Linked DNA regions of Homo sapiens: region 2 is linked to region 1. Evidence: promoter capture Hi-C in human tissues and cell types (Jung and others, 2019). All regions are on one chromosome and are shown on one strand. The core of a region is centred on a gene start or on the middle of the fragment in contact, and the rest is flanking DNA. Distances in the headings are between cores, read along the strand shown.

Region 1 (2,700 bases), core at 180-2,679:
ATATTATTCAGCCTTAAAAAGGAAGGAAATTCTGATACATGCTACAATATGGATGAACCTTGAAAATGTCATACTAAGTGAAATAAACCAAAGAGGAAAATATTGTATGATTTCATTTGTATGAGGTACCTAGAATAGGCAAATTTATATAGTAAGAAAGAATAACAGAGGTTACCAGGGCCTGGAGAGAGGGAGGGATGGGGAGTTAGTTTTTAGTGGGTACATACTTCTGTTTGGAGATGATGAAAAAGTTCTGGAAATGGATAGTGGTAATGGCTGCATAACACTGTAAATGTACTTAATGCCAATGAATTGTACACTTAAAAGGGATTAAAATGGTAAATTTTATGCTATGTATGCTTTGCCACAATAAAAAATGAAGTATAAAAGAAGAATTTCTGGGCTTTCCGTTTTTTCATGTGTGTTTTTGGTTTTGTTTTTTTGTTGTTGTTTTTTTTGTTTGTTTTTGAGACAGGATCTTGCTCAGTTGCCCAGGCTAGAGTGCAGCGGCGTGATCATGGCTCACTATAGCTTTGACCTCCCAGTCACAGGTGATCCTCCCTCTTCAGCCTCCCAAGTAGCTGGGACCATACGTGTGCATCACCACACTCAGCTAATTTTTATAGAGACAAAGACTCCCTATGTTGCCCAAGCTGGTCTTGAACTCCTGGCCTCAAGTGATGCTCTCTCCTTGGCCTCCCAAAGTGCTGGGATTACAGGTGTCAGCCACCGCATAGGCTTTACTTCTAACTTCTTCTTGGCTGTAGTCCAGGAGTCTTGTTTCCTGAGTCCTCATGATCCCCATCACATGCTTCCAGGTTGATTCACTCTTTGTACAACCCTCTGACCCAGCGCTCTCCACAGCTCTGCCCTCAACTCACCACATATGGTGCTTGAAGAGCCACTTCCTTTCCTATACAGGCCACCAATGTCTTTTTGTGGCACATGAAACCCACTTCAGAGAAATGTGGGACTTTGGAATCCACGAAAGGCATAATTCACTTCACTGTCAAGGGATATAGCTCATTGGTCAGAAACTGTATCTGTTCTCTGAAGGACCATTGCATTCGGTCCCTCCTGGCTGGTTTCTGGTACCTTCTAGTCTGTCCTTCTCCCCTCCTTGTCTGTCTTCATTTCTCTCAAATCCCCCCTCCACCTGGGCAAATCTCTTTAAAGACCCTGTCTTTGCACTCAGAGAACGCCCCATGCTCCACCTCAAATTCTCCCCTCATTTCTGGCCCTGCATCCCTCATTCTCACACTCTACCTAGGCTAGCACTCACTGGTGGAGGGCTGGGGTGCCACAGCTTTGGAGAAGAGGTTTAAAGGTCTCCATATCCAGGAGCTGGCTCTGATATCTCGCCCCACCTGCCTGAGGCTGATCATTAACCCAGAACTTATATAAAGATGGCTCATGCGTGGAATGGGTATAGCACTGCCTGCAGCCATGGCCAGTACGGTTAGCCCCAGCACCATAGCTGAGACCCCAGAGCCACCTCCATTGTCTGACCACATCCGAAATGCTGCTGACATCTCAGTCATTGTCATCTATTTTCTGGTGGTGATGGCTGTTGGGCTGTGGGTAGGTGGAATCCCAGTGGCTTTTAGGGTGGGCACAAGGTTTAGGAGGGGGTATCTTAAGGGGGGAAGGGGTGTGGTTGTGACAAAGCTTTTCACAAATGTCATTGTGTTATCAGAATCATTTTCTTGTGTGTTGCATAAATAACGCTTACAATGAACTAATGTATTCTCCTAATAACCCCATCGTGTGCACACAGCCAGCACCGGGACCTTCAGATTTACTATGCATCCCCAACACCTGGCATAATGGACAAAGAGTGTATTTTTATTATCGCATTTCTTTCGCTTTCTTTTGTTGTTTGCTCACTTTCTGATTTAGTGAGTTGGACTCTTCATTTATGTTGAATTTTTTTATTTTAATAAATTTGAGACTGCAAATTTTTTTTTTTTTTGAGACGGAGTCTTGCTCTGTCGTCCAGGCTGGAGTGCAGTGGCGCTTGCTTGGCTCACTGCAAGCTCCGCCTCCTGGGTTCACGCCATTCTCCTGCCTCAGCCTCCCAAGTAGCTGGGACTACAGGCATGCGCCACCACGCCCGGCTAACTTTTTGTATTTTTAGTAGAGACGGGGTTTCACCATGTTGGCCAGGATGGTCTCGATCTCTTGACCTTGTGATCCACCCGCCTCGGCCCTCCAAAGTGCTGGAATTACAGGCGTGAGCCACCGTGCCCGGCCGAGACTGCAAATTTTATTGCAAGCATGGCTCAATGATACCTCACATGGTTTTCATAAGTGAGAATAATCAGAGCAGTTAAGATAGAAGTTAAGGATTATGATTTTTTTAAGTTCTTCCAGCCCTGGGTTTTTACAAAGCGACTGTTTTTGAAGTCCTTTAAAATTTGATGCTATAGAACACTTTCCAGCGAAATGTTTCTCTCTGTAGGAGTGCTGAAGTCACCCCTCTCAGCACCCTGGCCAGAGCCTCTGGGGTGTCTGGGTGCACTTGCTGGGGCTTGACCCTCACCTGTCTTCCCTTCTGCTCAGGCGATGCTGAAGACCAACCGAGGTACTATAGGAGGCTTCTTCCTCGCTGGTCGTGATATGGCCTGGTGGCCGGTAAGTGGATCGAAGTTTTCTGGAGATAAATTTCCTGTGTGTGTGCTTAAAACTGAATGTAGGCTG
Region 2 (2,700 bases), core at 98-2,597, 36 kb before region 1:
AAAATATATATATATAGGAATTTTCTACCATATTTCTCACAGTCCTGAAGTCTGGGAAGTCCAAGATCAAGGCACTGGCAGATGTGGGGTCTGGGGAAGACTCACTCTCTGCCTCTAAGATAGCACCCTGTTGCTGTGTTCTCTGGGGATGAATGCTGTTTTCCAAACATATGGGGATTTTCTAGCATATACACACACACACATACACTAGAAAAAAACAAATATATATCTAGTATGTACATATTAGAAAATATGTGTGTACAGATTAGAAAATTCCTATAGTTCCATATACCATATATATTAGAAAAATATATATAATATCTAGTATATATTATATATAATATCTAGTATGTATTATATATAATATCTAGTATATATTATATATATAATATATAGAATATAATATATATATTATATAATATCTAGTATGTATTATATATAATATCTAGTATATATTATATATATAATATATAGAATATAATATATAATATCTAGTATATGTATTATATATTATATATAATATCTAGTATATATGTTATATATATATACTAAAACCCCGTCTCTACTAAAAATATAAAAAAATAGCCGGGCGTAGTGGTGCACACCTGTAATCTCAGCTTCTCAGGAGACTGAGGCACGAGAATCACTTGAACCCGGGAGGCAAAGGTTGCAGTGAGCCAAGATTGTGCCATTGCACTCCAGCCTGAGTGACAGAATGAGACTCCATCTCCAAAAAAAAAAAGATAGAAAAGAAAAATAAATTATATATATACATACATATATATACACACACACATATATATAAAATATAAAAATTTCCATACATTGGGAAAACAAGAAATATAAATAGGCTAAGGTCAAGGAATAAATCATAATGAAAAGTAGAATACATTTGAGTATAAGGGAATTGTTACATATTAAAACTTAGGTGATTCAGATAAATAAGTGCTTAAAAGAAAATTCAAGCTTAAGAGCCTATCTTGGTAAAGAAATCAAAGAACATCTAAATTAATGAAGAGACGTACCATGTTCATGAGTTGGAAGACAACACAGTAAATGTGTCAATTTTCCCCAAGTTGATACACAAGTTTGACTGAAAACTAATGTCAGCCATACTTCTCACAAATTAAAAATAGAACAGTTGACCCCGGCGCAGTGCCTCACGCCTGTAATCCCAGCACTTTGGGAGGCCAAGGTGGGTGGATCACGAGGTCAGGAGTTCAAGACCAGCCTGACCAATACGGTGAAACCCCGTCTCTACTATAAAAATACAAAAAATTGGCCAGGCATGGTGGCGCACGCCTGTAATCCCAGCTACTCGGGAGGCTGAGGCAAGAGAATCGCTTGAACCCGGGAGGCGGAGGGTGGCAGCCTGGGTAACAGAGAAAGACTCCATCTCAAAAAAAAAAAAAAAGAACAGTCAAACACAAAGTATATAAAAAGAGAACAATGAAGATAAATACACAACTAAAGAAAAAGAAAATAAACATAACACAGAGAGGATCAGCAAAGCCAAATGCTAGCTCTTTAAAAAAATAAAATTGATAAATCCCTGGCAAAACTCATATGATGAAAATGAAAGAAGACAAATTCCAATATCAGAAATTAAAAAGAAGACACCACTACACATCCAGCAAGCATAAAAAAGAGGCTGAAATGGTTCAAATGTATGTTTTCCCCCAAAATTAATATTTTGAAACCTAAGACCCAATGTGATAGTATTAAGAGTTGGGGCCCTTAGGAAGCGATTAAGTCCTGAGGATGGAACCCTCATGAATGGGATTAGTGACATTATAAAAGGGCTGGAGGGGACTTTCTGGGCCTTTTTGCCTTTCCATCTCTTCTATCATGTGAAGACACAGCATTCATCCTCAGAGGACACAGCAACAAGCTGCGATCTTGGAGGCAGAGAGCGAGTCTTCTGCACACCCCACATCTGCCAGTTCCCTGATCTTGGACTTCCCAGTATTCAGAACTGTGAGAAATAAATTTCTATTGTTTGTAAGTTACCGAGTCTGAGGTATTTTGTCACAGCAACCCAAAAGGACTAAAAAGGAAATTGTTATGAAAAAATCATATCCAAAGCATTTGAAAATATAAAATAAAAAGTACAAGTTTTCAAAGCTGATATTAGAAAAATAGAAATTTAAAGAGTCCTGTAGTAATAAAATCAATTGAATCCATAACCAAATCTTTCCCACTAAGAAAACCCCAGGGACAAGGATGAAGCTGGAAACCATCGTTCTCAGCAAACAAACTAACACAGGAAGAGAAAACACCACATGTCCTCATAAATGGGAGTTGAACAGTGAGAACACATGGACACAGGGAGGGGAACATCACACACCGGGGCCTGTCAGGGGATGGGGGCAAGGGGAGGGAGAGCATTAGGACAAACACCTAATGCATGCAGGGCTTAAAACCTAGATGACGGGTTGATAGGTGCAGCAAACCACCACGGCACATGTGTACTTATGTCACAAACCTGCACATTCTGTACATGCATCCCAGAACTTAAAGTAAAATAAAAGTAAAAAGAAAAAAAGAAAAACCCAGGCCCTACAAATTCAACCAAACATTTAAGGAAGAGATCATGCCAATCATAAGCTCTTCTAGAAACCACGCCAATCATACACAAGCTCTTCCAGAGAATAGAAAAGCAATAGAAAATGAATATTAAAGAGCATAAAATGGCCTCAA

What was found. The method cuts DNA at HindIII sites, captures the fragments that hold promoters and counts their contacts. A contact is called where the count stands out against the background at its distance.
Region 2: a contact is called between a fragment that was not itself captured here and the fragment with the promoter of SLC5A4 in region 1, in 2 of the 25 tissues and cell types used here (IMR-90 fibroblasts and lymphoblastoid cells).

The regions. Positions count from the first base shown.
Region 1 is chr22:32,254,076-32,256,775 of GRCh38, reverse strand. It overlaps SLC5A4 (solute carrier family 5 member 4), which reads left to right and starts at 1,429. Exons shown (of 15, transcript NM_014227.3): 1 at 1,429-1,581; 2 at 2,563-2,634. The coding sequence starts at 1,447. The region is part of intron 2 of SLC5A4-AS1 (SLC5A4 antisense RNA 1); the gene reads right to left. The HindIII fragment of the contact is 10,747 bases long and covers 1-2,700 here.
Region 2 is chr22:32,289,921-32,292,620 of GRCh38, reverse strand. It overlaps a transcript of SLC5A4 not described here. Among named protein-coding and RNA genes, the nearest start is that of SLC5A4, 36 kb to the right of the region's middle. The HindIII fragment of the contact is 6,132 bases long and covers 1-2,700 here.